Linked DNA regions of Homo sapiens: region 1 is linked to region 2. The links are contacts of gene promoters, found by promoter capture Hi-C in blood cells and fetal thymus (Javierre and others, 2016). All regions are on one chromosome and are shown on one strand. Each heading gives the region's core, a stretch centred on a gene start or on the middle of the fragment in contact. The rest is flanking DNA. Distances are from core to core; before and after follow the strand shown. Region 1 overlaps PXK (PX domain containing serine/threonine kinase like). Region 2 holds the start of KCTD6 (potassium channel tetramerization domain containing 6).

Region 1 (6,354 bases), core at 1,252-3,751, 120 kb after region 2:
CGTGAGCCACCACGCCCGGCCAGGCTAATTTATATAAACAAGAATTAACTTCCTCCAGCATATTTCTGGTCACAAAAACATCAGCAAACTTCTAAAGACCTAAAACATGTCTAATAATAAACATTGAAATAAATATTACCTATATATAATTTAAGAAAGATTAATAAAAACAAGATAATTATTATTTTGGAGGGTAGCTGTTGTTAACTTGGTGTATTTTTGCACTTAACATTCATTACTTAAAGCAATTATATAGATATTAAAATGTAATTAAAGAATCCAGAAGAAATGGAAAATTACTTAAGCAATTATAATGCTTAGCATTGGTGAGATTTTGCCAACTTAACAAGTTAATTATTTATGCCATGTTTCCAGTTTAGGGTCTCAGGTGGCCGGAACCCATCCCATGTCAGGGTGCGCTCACACACACCCACACTCACATGGGGACTATGCAGACATGCTGGTTCACCTAACCTGTACATCTTTGGGATGTGGGAAGAAACTGGAGTACCCAGAGAAAATCCACGTAGACATGGAGAGAAAGTGCAAACTCCATTCACACAGTGGCCTTGGTCGTGGATAGATTTATTTTTTTCTCATCAACATTACAACCAAACAATGTTGAACAAAACGGTGTTATCTGAGAGCCTGCTGTCTTAGCCCGGGATATGGTTACACAGGCACAGAAAAAATGTCTGGGAGGACTCACACCAACTGCTTAACAATAACCATTTCTAGGAGTGGGTTGGTTCATTAATTTTTATTTCTCTACTGTGAAATGTTTACAGTGCTCATTTACTACTTTTTTTTCAATTAAAGAAAGAAAAGTGCTTTTGTTTATCAAACTGATTGTATATGGAGCAAGGATTTTTAAAATACCATTACCCAGTATCGACAGATTTGCCTGCACTACCGCATAGCAGCATCCCCAGCTGAGTCCACATCACTCAGAAAGGAGTCACATCTGACATCATTGGATTCAAATCCCAATATTCTGGCTCCTTTTCTTTCATTGTGGGGATGTGAGAGTGAATTTCATAAAGTATCTGTTTTGAACTTTGTGGCTTCCAAGCTTCAACATACCCAGTTTGTCAAGCTTCATTTCACTTTTTTAAATGTATTGCTCTGCCCAGACATCCCATCAGTTCTTTCAAACCGTCAGGTGAAACAAAGAGCTCTTTTGCCAACAGCTGCAATTATAATGTCCCTGCTATGTCAGACAGACCGGAGGTGGTTTTCCTGCCCTAAGTTTAAGATCTCACAAAAAAAATTCCTAAAGGTACTCAGACTATGCAACATATGTGTTATTTTAAAATCCCATCTCTTAAAAAAGATTATTCAAGAGACACTTACTTTCTCTTTCAGCTTTCTCCTAGAATTTCTAAACTGCTTACCAATTACAGAATAGAAAATTTAGAATTCCAATGGCTAATTAGAAGGGAGGGAAAAAAATACTACACATGGAATAATAAAGTCTCTAAGCCACTGATTTCCTAGACACCTCCACACTGATGACTTCAAGCCAGGATGCCTCATCATCTCACTTTCACTACCTTCCTCTTTAACATGCCCTATGGATTCCCTTCTTGAGTTCCTTATAGAAGGAAAAGAGAACAAGACAGCCAGCAGAGGAGTCCCCGGAGTTCTATGCACAACTGCAGAGTGAAAATGGAAAGGGGAGGCCAGGCGCCGTGGCTCACACCTGTAGTCCCAGCATTTTGGGAGGCTGAGGTGGGTGGATCACCTGAGGTCAGGAGTTCGAGACCAACCTGGCCAACATGATGAAACCCCCATCTCTACTGAAGATACAAAAAAATTAGCCAGGCATGATGGTGGGGGCATGTAATTCCAGCAACTTGGGAGGCTGAGGCAGGATAATCGCTTGAACCCGGGAGGTGGAGGTTGCAGTGAGCACGATCTCGGCTCACTGCACTCCAGCCTGGGCAACAGAGTGAGACTGTCTCAAAACAAAAAAAAAAAAAGAAAGAAAATGGAAAGCAGGGAATGATTCCCAAATTGGGATTTAGAGCCCAAAATTATATGACAAACTATATTACAGTTTCAGAAAACTAGCTTTTATCTGGAGGGAAAACTTTTTTTTTTTTTTTTTGAGACGGAGTCTCGCTCTGTCGCCATGGCTGGAGTGCAGTGTGCGATCTCGGCTCACTGCAAGCTCCACCTCCTGGGTTCACGCCATTCTCCTGCCTCAGCCTCCCGAGTAGCTGGGACTACAGGCGCCGGCCACCACGCCCTGCTAATTTTTTGTATTTTTAGTAGAGACGGGGTTTCACCATGTTAGCCAGGATGGTCTCGATCTCCTGACCTCGTGATCCACCCACCTCGGCCTCCCAAAGTGCTGGGATTACAGGCGTGAGCCACCACGTCAGGGGATGAGATGGCACTGGCCACAAGCTTACAGCAACTTCCAGGCAGAGGAAACAGAACATACAAAGGCCCTGGGCTAAGACAGGAATGAAAAACTTTCAACCTCAATCTGTTCATTGCTCTTTACTTCCAACATCAGATCTTCATGATCTGTAAATTGCCTTCAACCATATTCCAGTCAGTATCCTAGGGAGTTCTAAGCTTTCAACAGACCCTCAATTTGTCTCAACCCCCTGCTGTCCCCTGGAGTACAGTAAGTCTCTCCAAGGTCAACAATGGGCAGTAAAATTCTAATTACAAAACATTTGTGCTATAAGAGACCTCAGAAGTCATCTAGTTCAACCCCTTTATTTCAGCGGCGAAAGTGAAACCCAAGAGAAGAAATGATGGACTCGGCCAGGCGCTGTGGCTCACGCCTGTAATCCCAGCACTTTGGGAGGCCAAGGTGGGCGGATCACGAGGTCAGGAGATCACCATCCTGGCTAACACAGTGAAATCCCATCTCTACTTAAAATACAAAAAATTAGCCGGGCATGGTGGCGGGCGCCTTGTAGTCTTAGCTACTCAGGAGGCTGAGGCAGGAGAATGGCGTGAACCTGGGAGGTGGAGCTTGCAGTGAGCAGAGATGCACCACTGCACTCCAGCCTGGGCGACAGAGCGACTACGTCTCAAAAAAAAAAAAAAAGAAATGACGGACTCAAGGTCTCAACACTGGAAGGGGCAGGGCCTGGGTTCCTTCTCAAGTCTAAGGAACAGAGACTGAGTTCTTTCTCTCTCTGCCCAGTTCCCAACATTTCAACAGCCTGCTTCTTTCCCTTCGTTGTATGCTGTCTCCCTAGATGGCTGCTAATCTGATGTTGCATTTAAAATAAGATGGTGATTTTTCTTCATTGTTTCCACAAAATATGCTCACTATAAAAAGTCTGGCAGCCTGGCCAACACAGTGAAACCCCGTCTCTACTAAAAATACAAAAATTAGCCGGGCATGGTGGCACGTGCCTGTAATCTCAGCTACTCGGGAGGTTATGGCAGGAGAATTGCTTGAACCCAAGAGGCAGAGATTGCAGTGAGCCAAGATCACGCCACTGCATTCCAGTTTGGGTGACAGGGCGAGACTCCATCTCAAAAAAAAAAAACTTTAGAAAATGCAGCTTTTGCTGGGCACACTCCTGTAATCCCAGCACTTTGGGAGGCCGAGGCAGGCAGATCACAAGGTCAGGAGATTGAAACCATCCTGGCTAACACGGTGAAACCCCGTCTCTACTAAAAATACAAAAAATTAGCCGGGCGTGGTGGCGGGCGCCTGTAGTCCCAGCTACTCGGGAGGCTGAGGCAGGAGAATGAGGTGAACCCGGGAGGCGGAGCTTGCAGTCAGCCAAGATCGCGCCACTGCACTCCAGCCTGGGCGACAGAGTGAGACTCCATCTCAAAAAAAAAAGAAAAAGCAGCTTTTTTCTGTTTTTCCACTTAGATAGCCTACATGTGCTTGTTTGTGGAGCACTTGGAAAGTACAGAACATTAAACAAAACAAAACAAAGAAACAGAAAAAGACATAACCTATAATTCTGCCACCTGGGGATCACCATTAACATTTTGGCATATTTACTTGCAATCCTGTTTTCCAAACATTTCTTGTAATTATATTATATGGCATATATAATTTTGCATTCTGCTTTTTTTTCACTTAGACATGTTCCTATTGGACTCAGACATGTGTCCAACTCTGCATATGTGTATTATATTTCTCTTTCTTCAGCAGGAACTCATTTATCTGTCAAAAGGGTAATTGGACACTGAAAATCATGGTCACAGTTTTATTCTGAGGTTTGAGTCTTTTTGGTCTGTTTTATGGATATTGTTTTAAATTATTTCACTGCCAAAAAGCTGTATGTGCTTTCTTCTGTTTGTTTACTTGAATCCAGAAAAACCTCCCACTGAAATGATGTCTGACCATATTCTGCCCAACATAAGCCAACATCAATACATGGGGATATTTGCATTTGAAATAAGATGCACATTGAAAGTCCCCATTTTAAAAGGTAAAATTACACTGAAGCAAGCATAAAATTCACTATATTAAAAAGGCCATAAGTGAAGAGTTGTGGAGAAACTTTATCACCCCAAAGTATGAGTAAATGAGAGATAAAACTCCCCTCCCCACCCTCTATTCTTAGAGGCTAAGTCTAGGCAATTTCAATTTCAAAAATATTTCTCCCACAATTCTTACTCGGCCTGGCTGAATGACATTGTACAAAGATCACGCCCCCTTTATGCACAAGCAAAGGTTCGCTTGAGCATAAAGGCAGAAACAGTTAGTAGGCCCACTGTTAATTCCCAAATGCTTACACCACTGTGGAAATGTCACATGGGCCACTGCACTGGGGAGAGGAGGGCTTGAGGAGAAAATCCACTGCTGGAATAAACTGCACATTGATACCTTATCTACAATGTCATCATAGGCCCAGCTCTTGTCTGAGTGCAAAGATGCTATTAAAATCCATAAATAAAACCAATTAAACCCACTGATGAGAATCTGATGTCTGCCAATATTCTATCTGAAGACTCAAATGGGTCATACTAAAATTAAAACACAAAAAGACATTATGTGTCAAATGCATGACAAGTATGGCAATACATAATCATCTGCAGATACTCAGGCCCCTTCCTTCAAAAGGAAAACAAGGCATTCATGCTTTCAGCAGCATTATAAATAATGTTAAAGTGTGGGCTGTACAAATACTTATTTCCTTTTTTGTTTGTTTGTTTTTTGAGACAGAGTCTTGCTCTATTGCCCAGGATGCAGTGCAACGTGGTGCATTCTTGGCTCACTGCAACCTCCCCCTCCTGGGTTCAGGCGGTTCTCCTGCCTCAGCCCCCTGAGTAGCTGGGATTACAGGCGCCCACACCACACCCAGCTAATTTTTGTATTTTTAGTAGAGACAGGGTTTCGCCATGTTAGCCAGGCTGGTCTTGAACTCCTGACCTCAGGTGATCCACCCGCCTCAGCCTCCCAAAGTGCTGGGATTACGGGAGTGAGCCACGACGTGTGGCCCAAATGCTTATTTTCTGAAGTCTGACCAACAAAACGTGGCCTTCTGAAGGAAAGGAAGTATTACGCTTCCTCCTAGTGCACAGTCCTCCTGACCTTTATGGGCAAGATCAGAGGTCCCTCAGAATGAGCGATAACGGCTAGCTCACCAATGACGGGAGCAGTCCTTTCCCTCCTGGCTGAGTCCTTTACCTCATAAGCCGTGCACTCTTCCTCAGGTTTAAAGGGTTTTATGTTACCAATCAAACCTGAAGTATGACACACAAGAGCACAATAGTCTTCAGTAATCCAAGGCACTTGAAGACCAGCCTGCCAAGTGAAGACATGGCGGGTATTGGCAGGACTTCCTAAGGTGCTAAAGCCCCTCTTGGACCCTTTAACCATTACCAACACTGGCTGTGTTTCTAGATGAAGACCTTCCAGCTCATGCTTCTTCCCATTATGGCCCTCAAGTTAGGAACATTTAAAACAAAGGGATTTCTAACTACATATTTAGGATAAAAAAGTTAAACAGAAAAAGGTTGAGACTCTCAGTTACTGCTGCATGTTGATCCGCAGAGCTGATATGTAGCCTAGTTCAATGAAGAGATTCAGAGTCCCAGCTCCACCTAAGTGAACAACACTAGCAATCCACGCAATCATTCCACATCTGTTAAAAGGAGATATTACGTCAGCCTCCTATGACTGTGGTAAGAATACAGTCTGGCACAATAATACTTGGTTGCAAGGTGACTATTAATTATAAATCACATGTTGATTCCCAAAAGTTTATTTTTGGGAATACTTTACATCATCTGTATAAAGTATGAATTTATTTTCTTTGACAGGGAAATGTGCTAATTTCTTGTTTCTGATATTGCCATTTCCAACCAGTTTTGTTTTTTTTTTTTTTTTTGAGACAGAGTTTCACTCTTATTGCC
Region 2 (6,153 bases), core at 3,607-6,106:
AACTGAGCAATTTAAAAGGCCACTCATCCAAAAGTTCTGGTAAGATGCTCATCTTTGGCATTTTCCCATCACCCAAAGTATTCATTCTGACAGCCTCAATAATCATTCATTCAGCCAACAATTATTGTGGGTCACCTATGGAGTGGAGGGGGTGCCTATGTGCAATGCGGACACACAGAAAGAGGAAAAAGACAATCTTTGCCCTCATGGAGCTTTCCATCTATAATGGAAGGCAACATGCAATGACTGAAGTACAGAACAGAATTCAAAGTGCTGTATAACAGATGGACCAGCAGAGGCCCGTGAGAGGGGAAAAGCAAGATTTCAAATGGGAAATAGAGGACTTCTGGGAAGAGCCCATTCAGTTGAATCCTTGAAAGAAAATTCGGACAACCTGAGAAGGGATTCTAGAAGGAAGAAACAATTTAATAGACAGGGGCATGAAAGACTTTTTTTCCCCCTACAACATTCCTGATACCAGTAGGCCGAGCAGGGATTACTATCCTCATCTTAAAGATGCAAAACAGAGAAACAAGGCAGATTAAGTGACTAGCTGAGGGCGCCACAGCTGGGAAGTAACTAGATAAGAACTTGCATGTTCTGACTCTTAGTCTAGATTTTTCCATAAATCCCCTCCTAGGGTAGAAATTGAAAGAACAGAATCCAAGAGACAAGAAATTGAAAAAGCTTAACTTTAAACTCTCTATAGCCATCTATTAACCCTATCCATCCAGTAGGGTTTTATTTACAAATTTTACAGTAACTCAGCCTAACTAAACAGTCATAATGGGTTTGTAAAAATTCTCCTGAGGCCCCCCCACCAAAAAAAGGCAGGAACCCATTCAACTAGTGTGAATAACGGTTGCTGTCCTGTCTGTAGTGACATAAAGAACTCCAATCCGTGAATATCCAAATGATTAAATGAGAAACAGAAGATCAAAGACAAGGAAAAAAGCAGACATCAATGTTGCAGCCGTTAACGAAAAGTCTGTCCACTATTAACCCTTTTTTTCTTTTTTACTGCTAAATCAAAACAAGGTAACTTCTTGAGCAGTTATCTAAAAAAAAAAAAAAAAAAATTAGACGATGTCCCTGAATCTGTTCCACAGCAAAAGCAAAAGTTCCGGTACAAAGATGTAATGAAAGCTCACGCTTAATAATTCAGGAAAGCAATTATGGGAATCTACAGCCCATGTTTCTTAAAAACCACCCAAAAGCCTTCCTATACTTGTGTATAAGATACATCAAAATAAATTGAAGCAAAGTTACTATTAGTCACTTCCAATAACAATGAGTAAACTGTCTAAAGAAATCAAATTGTGCATTAAAGAGTTCAAAGGGAAAAAACAGTATTGATTAGTTTAAATTTTATCTCTACCTGCTTCTAAATATCTTCTGTGGAGATGCTTAAATACAGCAAGAAACAAACAAACAAAAAAAAAGCATGAAAAATTCCCTGTTATCCAATAGCTGGATAATGATCGGCTTCTGAATTCTGAATTGACGACCATTAGGAACATCTCTGAAACGATGCAGATGAATGAAATACAATCCCAAAGAATTTCCAGAATAGTTTCAATCTCTTCTACTGAATCATTTTCCAGAGCTACTAACAATTAGAAAATGATTCATTTGCTTTTCATCTTCTCTCCCTTCTGGCACAGTCTCCAGTGGAGGGCTTAATGAGAAGTTAAATGACCACAAGACAGGCAGCAGAAGGAAGATCTTGAAATGGGTATCAAATAGGCCTATTTTACTTGATGAAAGCAAAGAAATATCTAATATTTCAGAAAATCTACCAGGAATGGTAACAATAAAAAATTTTTCCTTTATAGTGACTTTCCTTACTAAAACTAAAGATGGTTTTGAAAGACAGCAAATGCAACCGAGCACAAACAGCTATAAAATTCAAAGAAGCCTCTGACCCTGAAAAATCAGTTCACCTGAAAAGATGTAACCTTTGATGCAAATAAAATTCTTGTGAAAACAACACTGCCCACTCCCCAAAGAATATAAAGCAGTGCTGAAAATTCAACCATGTTTAAGCTTCAAAGGTTATTGTGACTAATGTATAAATTCTGACAGTGTCATGTTAGCAGGTAATTAAGCTTAAGAAAACACATACTGAAGAATTTATAGAAACCTTAAAAGGAAGTATTAATTTTCTAAAGTAGCATATCTGAAGAAATGCATACATAATTCAGTAAGTTAATAACTTAAAAAAATAACCTAAGAACCCTTAAATGCCATTCTCCCTATCACTGCAGAATTGCAATTACAGGCCTAATGGTTATGATGAACTAACTTAACAAAAATATTCTGGGTTTATCATTCCTGCTATAGATTAAGAATTCTCCGGGGCAAAAGTCCTAATCCTATATAACTACCTATATGTTGCAATAAAAACCTCCAACGAATAATAAAAAACTCCAACTACTGACTTCCCAGAGTTTCCAGGCAGCCCTTTAAAAATGCTTTTTTACTGAAACCTTCGTGTCTGGTAGTCAGAAAAGACTCAATAAACTCCCTCTTTCTATACTTACCTTCAAAATTGCCTTGTATTGAGTTTTGCTCTTCTTGAAATGTGGGAGTTTGAAAGCGAAATACTTTTTATAGTAACTAGTTCAGCGACATCTAAAGGAGTCTTTGGGGTTAACATTCACATACAGGCCAGCATAAGTAGCCAGGCATACAAGGATAATGTGATTATGGTTAGATTATCCTTAACCATACCACTGCAGAAATGGATTTTTCTCTACAAGTAATCATTTTCTCTTTCTCCTTTCTCAACCATGTGGTCTAGAAGAGAGAAGCTATAGGTTTAAAAGTGACCTAATATTAAAAAGCTGTCACAAATAGTCACAAAATCATAACATTCCTCTTAACCCTCAGTTTCCGCAAGATAAAACGGGATAATACCACCTTCCCAAAACGGGGTAATTACACCATTTAGGCACAACACAAAGGCAAAAATTGGCCTATAAGAGTAACACATCAGGACAAGGAAAGAGAACAGGTTCCCAGGGAGGTCCTGTAGTTGAATTCTGCTCCGTTACTGATTATGAGACCCTGAGAAAATCACTCTTTATGCCCAGCTTCTTCTTTGGGGAAATGGAGAAAATAAGGGAGATCATGAATATAAAACCATCTGTAAACTAGCAAGTATTAGACAAATGTGAAAACATTAGTGGCAGCAGCATAAACAAAATTTCTAGGTTAACATGAGAAACTTGAGTGTGAACACAAGTAATTTAGAGCATTGGCCTGGAGACGGCAAATATGGAGGAGGCAGCCTCTTAATTTGCTTCAAATCTCCCCAGGTCCTCCTTTTCCCAGAGCTCCAGAAGGGAGAACTATATACAGGTAAAGGGGAGTGTCTAGTTTTCCCAGAGTTCACCAAACACCTGAGCTCCTGATCTCAGAAGGAACTTCTTTAAAGCATGACTCGGGATTATCTCCAAGTTAAAGCTGAATCCAAATACATACAGGTACTCCATTTTAAATGGACCCCAAATATCAAAATCCAAGCGCACTGAAGGATTCATAGGGTTCACCCTAAGATTCCTTTAAGTAGTAATGCTTTGGTTAAAATATGATTTATGAAAATTCAAATCACAAAACTTTGGAATGGCATCCATGGCTATCCTGACCACTCCATCGTTCATATCTAAGGCATAGCACAAAATCAAGTATCAGTATGGACTGATGGTTTCGGCCAAAGAGAAAATACTCTCAACCTACCAACCCTGCTGACAAACACATTTTCCTTTTCCTAGCTACATATTCGTTCATTTGAAAACATCTCAATCTTGGGCTCAGGACTGTGCTACATGCTGTCCCCAAGCTTCTCTCCTATCCCAGGATGATTCAAGTAATAGGGCATTTGTGACAGCGAAAAAAAGAACATGCCAGGGGGATATAGAAGAGATACTTAGGCTACCCCAAATATTCTTAGCCGAGCCGGGTCATCCCAGGTCACTTTGCCACCCAAACCTCTTCTATCACAAAGTCCTAAAATTGGATCCATCAACTTGTTCTAGAACTGGTATACTTGAACAGAAACATGGTAACTTCGGCAGAATATCCAAACAGGATCTCTGTCACGTTTCATTTCCCCGTCCCACCCCCAGACACAGCCTCCACCACTGTCAGCCCAGCAGGTGCTGCCAGGGCTCCCCATTACCATGGCCATTTATCACCTCTGACATCAAGCATTAAAAACGCCACCACACACACACAAATCTAGGCATAAAGAACTCAGCTGCGATCTGAGAGTCTCTTCAGGGCAGAAAATCCCAAAGGCAGGGTTTTGAGTCCTGCCTCAAGCTTTAAACTAGGGCAATTGGTGGCTAATAAGCGCCATCTCCCAAAAACAATCATTTTCGAGCACACCCCAAATATCTCCGTCCGGGCCGCCCTTCGCTGCTGCCCCGCCAGCGAAGCCCCCGCAACCCGACCCGGCCAGGGGTAGGGCGGGCGATGCTCCGGGCCCGGACGAGGGGCGCGCCGCGGGGCTCCGAACCCGGGCCCGCAGAAACCGCGCATCCCCGCCGGGCGGGCCCCGGAACCCCCGCCCAGGCCCCGCCGCGGGCACCTCCGCTGCTGGCTCGTGCCAGCCCGGGACGCGCGGTCCCCTCAACGCGGCCCCGCCGCCGCCCCGTTCCAGGAGCCCCCGCCCAGATCCTCCTCAGCCCCGCTCCCCTGGCCGCTCGGCGCAGACGTCTCCTGAAACCCGGCCCTCCCAAACCCCGGCCCCGCAAGCCCCGCGCCAGCCCCACTCACTGCGCGGCGGCGGCGGCTGCTGCGGCCGGGCCGGGAGATGCCCGCGGCCGGAGAGCGCGAGCGCGGGGACAAGCGAGCCCGCGCCCGGCGACGGCGGCGGCGGCGGCGGCAGAGGGGACGACTGAGCCCGCGCCCGGAGTTGCGGCTCCAGCTGCCCGGCGCGGGCGGCGCCTTCCCAGCAGAGCCGCGGCGCCACGAGCGCGGGCGCCCCCTAACGGCAGCGCGGGCTGGAAGCCAGAGAGCGGGCGGCCTGAGGAACTCAGCCAGCGCAGTCGGAGCCGCGCGGTCAAGACCACACGACCGCAGCCCCGAAGCCCCGCCCCGAAGCCCCAGTCCCGCCCCTTAGGCTCCGCTCCGAAGCCCCGAAACCCCGCCCCTACGTCCCGCCTCCGCCCGCAGCCTGGGGTCCGCCCAACCCCAGGCCCACTGCGTCCTCAGGGGTGGTGCCTCCACAGCTGTTTCTCCTTAGTCATTTCACGAACTTGTATGGGCCCCCCACTATATCTCAGGCCTGGGGGTTTAGGAGATACAGCGGCCACCAAGACGGAGGCGGGTCCTAATCAAAGGAGAAGACAGACAAGACTCAAGGAAACAGCTAATAGACAAAATAATGACAAGTTATGGCCGTAAGTGTTGGGAGGGACATGATTAGAGGACTTAGATGGAGAAGAAGGGAAGGGAGCCCCTGCTCCAAACGCAGTGGCCGAGGAAGACCTGGACCCCGACCTGCGGCCAGAGCTCCTCCTGCCTGCCCTGCATTGGGGAGACAACCCTGCGATGAGGCCTGTGAAGAAGCCCCCGGGGCCACCGGGGCAAGACGGTCTGGTCCGGCCTGACGGGCAAGACAGCAAAGGGCTGCTGGGCCCAGAAGCTCAGCAACACGGGCAGCCAGGTGGAGAGAAGGGCAGAGCTACCTTCAGCAGACAAAACGACCCATGCAAAGGCTCTGGGGCCTGGAGGAGCTCGACCCTAGATGAGACTGGCGCTGGTATTGTCCCCACTTCACCAGGAAGGAAGCCAAGGCTGCAGAGGATGGGCAGCACCTAACGCCTCAGGGCTAATTGGTCTCCATCCGTCCACTCGTTCCAAGTCCATTCACTTCCTGCTAGCCAGGCCACTGTCCCCTTCCGGTGGGACCAGTTACCTGATGCTGGGTTTAACCTTCTCCACCAGAATAACCACTGGCCTTAGAAACTCACTTGGGTTTCACGTCTGCATGTGTGTGAGCTAGCTCTGGGGTTGAAATTGTATCAGCATGATCATCACAGTTATATCTGATACTTGATTTGTCTCCAAAAGCTCAAATTGATAGGTTAAATAAATGACATATGCTTCATCAACATAACTGAGTGCTACATTATCAAATTCACA

Evidence for each region. Contacts are between HindIII fragments. The CHiCAGO score rates a contact against its expected background, and 5 or more counts as called.
Region 1: a contact is called between a fragment that was not itself captured here and the fragment with the promoter of KCTD6 in region 2, in 1 of 17 cell types (naive B cells). The highest score is 5.3, in naive B cells.

Annotation. Positions count from the first base shown.
Region 1 is chr3:58,369,800-58,376,153 of GRCh38, reverse strand. All of the region lies in intron 3 of PXK (PX domain containing serine/threonine kinase like), which reads right to left. Among named protein-coding and RNA genes, the nearest start is that of PXK, 40 kb to the right of the region's middle. The HindIII fragment of the contact is 174 bases long and covers 2,415-2,588 here.
Region 2 is chr3:58,490,799-58,496,951 of GRCh38, reverse strand. KCTD6 (potassium channel tetramerization domain containing 6) reads right to left here and starts at 4,856. Exons shown (of 3, transcript NM_001128214.2): 1 at 4,783-4,856. RefSeq lists a silencer at 4,556-5,205. The HindIII fragment of the contact is 5,155 bases long and covers 4,329-6,153 here.